3 separate regions of the Homo sapiens genome follow, and all the other regions are linked to region 3. Evidence: promoter capture Hi-C in human tissues and cell types (Jung and others, 2019). All regions are on one chromosome and are shown on one strand. The core of a region is centred on a gene start or on the middle of the fragment in contact, and the rest is flanking DNA. Distances in the headings are between cores, read along the strand shown. Region 1 holds the start of ATP6V0A2 (ATPase H+ transporting V0 subunit a2). Region 2 holds the start of TCTN2 (tectonic family member 2). Region 3 overlaps SBNO1 (strawberry notch homolog 1).

Evidence for each region. Contacts are between HindIII fragments. The study calls those that stand out against the background at their distance.
Region 1: a contact is called between the fragment with the promoter of ATP6V0A2 here and a fragment that was not itself captured in region 3, in 2 of the 25 tissues and cell types used here (pancreas and small bowel).
Region 2: a contact is called between the fragment with the promoter of TCTN2 here and a fragment that was not itself captured in region 3, in 4 of the 25 tissues and cell types used here (H1 embryonic stem cells, aorta, dorsolateral prefrontal cortex and 1 more).

What each region holds. Positions count from the first base shown.
Region 1 is chr12:123,710,430-123,713,609 of GRCh38, reverse strand. ATP6V0A2 (ATPase H+ transporting V0 subunit a2) reads right to left here and starts at 1,257. Exons shown (of 20, transcript NM_012463.4): 1 at 928-1,257. The coding sequence starts at 1,044. LOC105370042 (a long non-coding RNA gene) reads left to right here. Exons shown (of 3, transcript XR_945477.4): 3 at 1-844. RefSeq lists a silencer at 883-1,432. The HindIII fragment of the contact is 14,070 bases long and covers 424-3,180 here.
Region 2 is chr12:123,669,517-123,672,532 of GRCh38, reverse strand. It overlaps TCTN2 (tectonic family member 2), which reads right to left and starts at 1,420. Exons shown (of 18, transcript NM_024809.5): 1 at 1,211-1,420; 2 at 919-1,026; 3 at 401-477. The coding sequence starts at 1,292. The HindIII fragment of the contact is 13,736 bases long and covers 1-3,016 here.
Region 3 is chr12:123,337,018-123,340,246 of GRCh38, reverse strand. All of the region lies in intron 5 of SBNO1 (strawberry notch homolog 1), which reads left to right. Among named protein-coding and RNA genes, the nearest start is that of MIR8072, 26 kb to the left of the region's middle. The HindIII fragment of the contact is 4,997 bases long and covers 1-3,229 here.

The DNA of each region.
Region 1 (3,180 bases), core at 8-2,507, 370 kb before region 3:
TGTGTCTGCCTTGCTCACCACCGAGTCTCCAGCACCAAAAACAGTGCCTGAACATAGCGGGCAGTCAAGAAAAGCTTGTCTGTTCATTCAACAAATGCCTATCGATGCCAATGACTGCCAAGGACTGCGTTAAGGTACTTACTCTCAGAGGTTGACAGTCCTTGGTGGAGACAAACAATAAACAAGTAAATGGACAAACAAATGTTTATTATTACTTGTTGGGGAGACAGCTTCCACTCGACAAACAATGACTGAGTTCTTAAGTCCTTACACACAATGGTATGTACAGCATTAAGCATCAGTGACCAAAACACAAAAATCCCTCTCCTCAAGCAGATGACATCCAGCTCCTTCCCATTTCTGGCTCTGTCTGGGCTCCTCCTGTTCCCTCCAACAAGGACCCTCTCCCCAGATCTTCCCCACGGCTGGCTCCTTTCTATTTGGGTCTCAGCTGAAATATCACCTTCTCCGGGAGGCTTCCTCGACAATCCCTTCACACTCACCTCCCGCCCGAATCACCTTCACATCACCCCGTTTCTTCTTTATGGCAAACCTTTTCTGGTTGACCTATTTATTTGGTTAATGCGCCCCCCTAACCCCCGTAAAGTTCCAAAAGGACTCCAAGAGGCCTTTGTGGGATTTGTTCTCCCGCTGAGCTCGGTGCCCGGAGCTGATGAAGACCACACGGGCGATCCTAACTAACTGGGGCAGAGCAGCCGCCGACCACACAGACGGCCGGCGACCCTGGAGTCAGCCCCGCGCTCCGGGAAGCTTTGGCCGCTGAGCTGGGGTGTCATCTTCCCCGTCTGGACAATGGGGACGGGGCGCGCCCTTCCTCGGTGCTCCCCGCGGGAGGGCCCCAGCGATGCGCGGGATTGGGGGCGCCAGGAGAGCAGGTGCGGCCCGCGTCTCCCGGGCGACACTCACGTCTCGGAACTGGACCAGGCCTTTCTCGCCCAGGGCGCTGAGGCACTCGTAGGCCGTGCCCGACTGCAGGAAGAGCTGCGCCAGGCACATGGTCTCGCTCCGGAACAGGGACCCCATGGCGGGCCGACCCGCGCCCGGAGGGGCTCGATGGGCGGCGGCGGCTCCGAGCCGCGCGGGCCCGCACACTCAGCCGGTGCGGCCCGGGCCTCGAGCTCTTCCTGTGGCCTGGCCGCGGCCCCGCACTATGGGGCTCCAGACTGCAGCGGCCGCCCCCGGTTCTGCCACCGCGGCCGCCGCTCCAGCTGCCGCCACAGCAGTCCGCGAGGTCCCGCCCCCAAGCCACTGCCGGTTCCGGTTCCGCCCCCGCGTCCCGCCCCCCCCGCCGGCCGACCAATGGACGCCCGAGGTTGTCGCCGCACGACGTGGCGGCAGGGCCAACCAGCGCGAACCCGGCGGGTACGACCACTGCAGCTGGCGCTCCGCCGGACTGGACGCAGAGCTAAATCCCGCGCGGCTCCCCGGCTTTCCTGGAGGAGTCTCGCCGAGTGTGCACGCCGCGAAGCTCACCCGTTCCTAGTGCACGACCCTGTGCTGCTGCGTGTGTGTGTGTGTGTGTGTGTGAGAGAGAGAGAGAGAGAAACGGAATCTCACGCAGTCCCACAGGCTGGAGTGCAGTAGCGCGATCTCGGCTCACTGCAACCTCCGTCTCCCAGGTTCAAGCGATTCTCCAGCCTCAGACTCCCCAGTTGCTGTGACTACAGACGCGCGCCACCCGCGTCCAGCTAATTTTTTTGTATTTTTAATAGAGACGGGGTTTCACCATGTTGGCCAGGCTGGTCTCAAAACTCCAGAGCTCAGGTGATCCGCCTGCCTCGGCCTCCGCAGTGCTGGGATTACAGGCGTGAACCACTGCGCCCGGCCCTGCTGCTGGTTTTTTATGGATAGGGTTTCCCTCTGTGGCCCAGGGAGGAGTGCAGTAGCACGAGCTCGGCTCGCTGCAACCTTGACCTCCTGAGCTCAAGCGATCCTCCCACCTCAGCCTCTGGAGGAGCTGGGATTACAGACGCGCGCCATCACACCCGGCTAATTTGTTTTTAAAATGTTTATAGAGAAGGGGTTTCATCATGTTGGCCAGGCTGGTCTCGAACTCCTGAACTCAAGCAATCCTCCCGCCTTGGCCTCCCAAAGCGCTAGGATTACAGGCGTGATCCGCCGCCCGGAGGGATCCTAGGCTTCTTCGTGAAGTTGGAGTGTGCAGCCAGCATCCCAATCCAGTTTTCAAACATTTCCCACCGACCTCGCAAGACTCCTCCTGCTCAGTTGCAGTCTCCCCTTCCCGCCCGGCCTGGCCACCACAGGACAATTTTGTCTCGCTAAATTTGCCACCTCCAGGCTTGTCCTGTCGATGGAATCACACAGCACCCAGTGTGTGTTCCCCACACTGACCGGGAAGCAGTGGCCCCCCGCCCCAGGCCGCAACCTCACCGCTGTCCCAGTCGAGTCTCTGCTTACATATCCCCTTCCTTGAGACTGTCCCTGGAGTCACATCCTTGTTCTATTTCCTTCACTGCACCTGCCACCATCTGAAATTATCTTGTCTGTGTGTTAGTGCCAGTCTTCCCTGCTAGAATGGAAGCTCCACCAAGGTGGGGACATTGTTTCTGCCACTGTGGTATCTCCAAGCCCCAGCACATAGTAGCCACTCAATAAATAGTTCATGAATGCATACATAAATGTATAAACTTAAAAAAGTTAAAACCATAGACACTCCAGACCCCATTCTGCCAAACTGAGTTTTTTCCTTCTTTTAAGTACAAAAGGCGTCCTCACAAAGCCCACAAAATCAAGCTAAATTACCTGTCATTTGGAAGTTTTAAATTTATTTTCCATAAATACCTGAAATCCAAAGCTAGTTACACTAGGCTGGGTGCCCTGGCTCACTCCTGTAATCCCTGCACTTTGGGAGGCTGAGGCAGGTGGATCACTTGAGGTCAGGAGTTTGAGACCAGCCTGGCCAACATGGCAAAACCCCGTCTCTACTAAAAAAATATAAAAATTAGCTAGGCGTGGTGGTGGGCACCTGTAGTCCCAGCTACTCGGGAGGCTGAGGCAAGAGAATCGCTTGAACCTGGGAGGTGGAGCTTGCAGTGAGCTGAAATGGCATCCCTGGACTCTAGCCTGGGCAACAGAGTGACACTCTGTTTCAAAAGAAACAACAACAACAAAAAGATACAGTAAGAACTGTGAAGGTGA
Region 2 (3,016 bases), core at 171-2,670, 330 kb before region 3:
AACTCCTGGGCTCAAGCAATCCTCCCGCCTCAATCTCCCAAAGCGCTATGAGTACAGGCGTGAGCCACGATGCCTGGCATAAAGCTTTTTTGAATCACTGACCCATTTGATGATCTAAAGGAAACTGGTGACCCTCTCATCAGAAAAATGCACATACACACAGAACTTTACATACAATTTCATAGAGTTCACAGACCCACTGAAATACATCCAAGGACTCCTAACCCCAGGGTAAGGAACCCGTGGGCTGGATAAGTGTCTACCAGATCCAACAGCCCACAATTTCATGATTGTTGAGAGCATGGAGAAAGCCATGCCTTGTTAAATAAAGAGAGCACTGCAGAAACCCTAGCTGGGGGCCTCTTCACAGGCTACAGAGAAGGTTTACTTCTGGCCTTACCGCACCGGGGATCACAGTCACGCTCCAGTCTTCCGTCTCATTGTTCAGCACTCCACACGTCGGAATTGGCAATATTCCTAAAGAAAGAAGACCAGCATGCAAAGGCAGCAAGGTCCAGCAGCTCAGGGGGTGCATTGAGTCAGACTGCCTAGGATGGACTCACATTACAGCCTAAGATTGGGCCCTTTACAAGCTGCTTGACACTGGGACAGTGACAACCTCTCTGAACTTGTTTCTTCCTTGGTCAAAGGGGATGAAAAGATATTACTGTTCTTACTAGGAAAATGGGATGATGCACGATGTTAGCTCAATGAATGCTAACCATTATTATTTCAGGCTTTCTTCGAACCTGTCCGTCTGTCCTCTTTGGCCTACAGCAGCCGCCCGATCCTTTTCTCCCCATGCGACTTTGCAGAGAACAGAGGCAGGGGGCCCCAAGGATGCCACCTCTCCAGGCTCCTTGGGAGGTCTGGATCCAGTCCAACCCCCACCCTCCCCAAAAGAGGGCCGGACTTTACCCGCCTCGTCCTGCAGCACTGCCAGGGACACGGTCACACCCTCGGTGTCTCCGACCAGGGACGCGCTGACCGCAGGGCCGGACATTCGGATAAAAGGAGGGATGAAAGCTAGGCGGGAAGGAAAGGGGACAAGGAGGGGTTAGCAGTGGAAGAATCACCGCCTAAGGTGTGTGTGGCGGCTTGCTTTGGCGTTGTCGACTCCCGAAGCTCCCGGGGGAGTCCAAGTCTGGCCCTTTTAACGCCCAGTCCCCTCAGCCCCGGCCCACCGAGGTCACTGCCGCGCCGTACACACCCAGGTCCCCCCACAGAAGCCTCAGGATGCCCTGCAGAAGGAAAAGCCTCAAAAGAAGAGCGGCCGGAGGCTGGAAGCCCATGCCTTAGACCTCGCGGGCCGGGCACAGCAGAACCGCGCCCTCATTAGAACCCAGGAAGGACTCAGACACGAAAACGCAGCAGCCACTGCCCCGCCGCCGCCATCTTGCAAGCGAACGCCCGGAGCTATGGCAACCACCAATCGGCGGCCGGCCAGGAGGAACGCCGCGCTGTGATTGGACCAGTGGCAAGAGCGGGCACCCCGGCCCCGCCCACAAGGCCTAGCATTTTTGCTGCTTGACTCTGGTGGGGAGAGTGAGGGCTGAAAAACTACCTATCCGGTGCTCCACTTAGTACCTGGGTGACGAAACAATCTGTGCACCCAACCCCCGTGACACGCAATTTACCTATATAGCAACCTGTACATGGACCCCTGGGCCTAAAAGTTGAAAACATCAAAATTAAAAAGGTCCTGAAAAGCAGGAGTGCGTGTCCGGCTCAAAAACTGGAGTTTTCCCCTACCCTGGAATTAATCCAACAATAGCCAAGAGCGATCCTATAGACACTGGCTTCTAAATAAAAAGGGTGGGACTTGCTCCTTAATAAACTTGATTTTTATACGGATTTGTTTTAGGGGTGAGTAGAAAAAGGGGATGGGGCTGCCGCGCTGTGTTTATTATCTTTACTATCGTTTATGATGTATTATTTATATTTTATATTTTTATAAAATAAATATATATTTACAAAATAGATATACTTTGTTTTATATATATATATCAGATATACATACTTGATATATATAAAATACATATAGGCCGGGTCTGGCGGCTCATGCCTGTAATCCCAGCAATTTGGGAGGCCGAGGCGGGCGGATCACAATGTCAGGAGTCTGAGACCAGCCTGATCAACATGGTGAAACCCCGTCTCTACTAAAAATACAAAAAATTAGCCAGGCGTGGTGGCAGGCGCCTATTATCCCAGCTACTCAGGAGGCTGAGGCAGGAGAATTGTATGAATCTGGGAGGCGGAGGTTGCAGTGAGCCGCGATTGCACCACTGCACTCAAACCTGGGCGACAGAGCCAGACTCCGTCTCAAAAATATATTTATTTATTTATTTATCTTATAAAATATATATGTATTTATATTTTATCTTATATATATTTATCTTTTATATAAGTATATATTTTGTAAATTTTATACTTATATGTTATAATTTTATAAAATTTATATTTTTATAATTCTTATCATTATCATTTATTATCACTATTGCTTTTATTATCATTCTCCTAGGTTTTTGAAGGATTTTCTCCCCTGCACAGAGCTCTCAGCACTCTGAAAGCAGATCCAATCACAGAACACACAAGAGGTTTTGCCCAGCAATAGGACAGATGTGAAAGAATCAAAATTCTGTCTGGAAAAAAATTGTTTTTTCTTATATCAGTAGCCTCAGAACATTTCAAATATTGTCACGGCTTGGGGACTGAGAGTGCAGGGTCTGAGGTCAGGCTGCCTGGCATGGGATTTCGCCTTCCCTCCACAGATATTCTCAGCTGTTAAGTGACTTTGGGCAAGTCAACCTCTCTAAGTTTCAGCTTCCTCATCTATAAAAAAGGGATGATAATAATCCTTCCTTGGGGATTGTGTGAGGATGAAATGAGGTAACATATCTAATGAGGTTAAACCAATGGCTGGCATACAGTAAGCACTCAGTTAATGATCAGTTACTTGTTAACTATCAGAGAGGTGGTGTATCCTTTAGCTGAGACAATCATGGTGTTCAGCATT
Region 3 (3,229 bases), core at 590-3,089:
TCCATACATTTATTTAATAAATTCTCCATGTATAACATTGTTAATATGTAGTAGGTTTCTACAAGAAGTATATTTATTACATGATTCTACCTTCAGTAAGCAAAATTTGACAACCATCTGGATTAAGTAGTAATAATGAAAAGTACATCAAATGGTATGCAATGTGCTACTCACAATAAAGGTTAGGAATTTGGAGGAAGAGGTGACCTTCCTGAACTCTAGTGGCCTGGTGGACTTTATGGAGAGGGAATAATGGAGCTTGGGTTTTGAGTATGACGAGACTTTGAGGTGGGATATTAGGAAGGGAGCTAAAGGATTAATGGGCACAGAGGGGAGGTAGTGAGTATGTGCTTCGGTGAAAATAAGCCAGGAAGCTTAGCTTGTAGAAAGAAGTGGGAATAGTAGGTCTGGGCTCCATGGAGGGTCCTGAATTGAGGTTTTTATTGTTGTTGTTGTTTTTGAGATGGAGTCTTGCTCTGTTGACCAGGCTGGAGTGTAGTGGTGCAATCTTGGCTCACTGCAATCTCCGCCTCCCAGGTTCGAGCGATTCTTCTGCCTCAGCTTCCTGAGTAGGTGGGATTACAGGTGCCCACCACCAGCCCTGGCTAATTTTTGTGTTTTTAGTAGAGACGGGGTTTTACCACATTGGCCAGGCTGGTCTCGAATACCTGACCTCAAGTGATCCCTCCAGCTCGGCCTCCCAAAGTGCTGGGAGGCCAAGGTGCCCTGTGCTGAATTGAGTTTGAAGGACTTTGGACTTAGTCTAGCACCATTGAGCCAGTAGACATGGAGGGACCTGTTAGTGATTCAGGAGAAGTTGGGGTGCAGACTGAGTAAAGGGGTAGGGAAGACAGATTCGGGATGAGTAGGAGTAGGCAAAAGAGAGAGGTTGGAAAGTTGGTTAACCTAAGGGGGAAGTAAGAAGGGGTACTAGAGACCTTGCAGAGGGGATTGAAAAACGGAGAGGGGAAAGGAAAAAAAGAGATGACTGTACATAACGATACCAAAAGAATTTTGGGACTTGGTTCTAGAATATGGAATTGGAGACAGTGCAGCAAACTGTAGCTGAGGTTTTGAATGGGAACCAGGAGAACAATAGTGCTACTGGCGGTACCCAGTTTACTTAGTGATTGTCTACCAACAGCACTTGGAAGGTGATTTTTGGAAACTAAGAATGCATATTTCTTCAAGAAATGTTTTATGTGGTTCTCACATTTCCATTTCAGTCCATTATATACCAAAAGTTTTTTATTGGCTTAGCAGTTAAGTAACATCTCAGAGAGACTGCAAACTGATAGCCCATCAACCAAACTAGTCGGGGAGGGGGGGGGGGGCGTGTGTGTGTGTGTGTGTCGGGGTGTGTGTGTGTGTGTGTTTAGACGGTGTCTTGCTGTCACCCAGGCTGGAGGGCAGTGGTGCAATCTCAGCTCACTGCAACTTCTGCCTCCCAGGTTCAAGTGATTCTTCTGCCTCAGCCTCCTGAGCAGCTGGGATTACAGGCGCCCCCCACCACCACCACCACACCCAGATAATTTTTGTTTCTTTTATTTTGTTTATTTATTTTGAGATGGAGTCTCGCTCTGTCACAGGCTGGAGTGCATTGGTGCAGTCTTGGCTCACTGCAACCTCCCCTTCCCGGGCTCAAGCAATTCTCTTCCTCAGCCTCCCAAGTAGCTGGGATTACAGGCGCCCGCCACTACGCCCTGCTAATTTTCTTTTGTATTTTTTAATAGAGATGGGGTTTCACTACCTTGGCCAGGCTGGTCTTGAACTCCTGACCTCGTGATTCACCCGCCTCGGCCTCCCAAAGTGCTGGGATTTCAGGCGTGAGCCACTGTGCCTGGCCTGTATTTTTTAGTAGAGACGGGGTTTTGCCATGTTGGCCAGGCTGGTCTTGAACTCCTGACCTCAGGTGATCCGCCCACCCCTGCTTGCCCAAGTGCTGGGATTACAGGCGTGAGCCACCATGCCTGGCTGACAAATGTATTTTGTTTGGCCTTCATGGTATTTTGAAGAATTTTGAATTTGTTTGCTGACATATACAAATCCTGATTTCCCGGTTATTTTGAAAAATGGGAGTACCTGACAACCCCAGGCCCACGTTCCCCATCTAGGAAGATTTGCCCAGCGTTGTGTAGTGAACATCTACATGGTATGTTGGGCAAACATTTCCCAGGTACCGTGGTCTCCCTCACCCGAGTTATCTCTTTGACCTAAATTTGATGTCAGTTGCTATCTCACATGCACCTGGCTTCAAGGTATTACTTGTTTGTTCCCTGGATATAGTGGTCCTTCAGTATTACCAACTTATCCTTCAGTTATTCAATTATCATCAATTTTATGATGATTTTAAAAAACTATAGGTAGGAGAATAAAGGATGGAGGGAGAAAGGAGGCTGCTTATCTTAACATAGAATACATTTTTATTTTATAAGCGAGGACAGGGTTAGACGGTGGGGGTGGAGAGGACCCAGAATTTAGGTAATTTGCCTAAATTAAAAAACAGACTACACAATTAAATAACAGCAGAATTGGGATTCAAATCTATTCATTTGGCCAGTCCTGTTTTGTCTCGAATTTCCGAAATTGAGTTTTATTTTAGCATAATTTCTGAGAACATTCCAAGTTTTTAGATTTTATCTAAAGACTCCATAGGTTAATGTTGATTGGATGGTTATGTCCCACTTCTTTTCCTTTTCACGTTTGTTATCTATTTGCAACCATATTCTGCTCTAGATTCTGAGGTAAATGAAAAAAGAGCCTGTCCTTCACTTTTAATGCTGTCTCGATCTTGCCTTAATTTGCCTTAACCTGTAGGTTTTTGTTGTCCTCTTCCCTTGGCATACTGAGTTTCACAACAGTTTCTTTATATTCTTCCCTGAACAAGTGCATGCTAATAAACAGTTGCCTAATGATTGTACTGGTAGTGAAAAGTGGCTTATTCCGGATCTTCCTTTATTCCTTTAAGATCCTGTAGAGGAAGAAAAGGGAAGCATAACCGTGGTGACCATTCACTTGGTTTGCCGAGGACAGTCTGGGTTTACTTCTGTTTTCTCAGTGTAATCCTCAATAGCTCCCCAACTCAAATGTGCCAGGGTTTGGAAAATAAATTATATGGCCATCTTATATATGATCACGATTGCATCTGTGGAGACACAGAAGTCTGAAGTAAATTTTTCTGTTCTTCATAAGGGCCTCTAAAATAAACTCCAGTCTTCTGGGGTTTTGG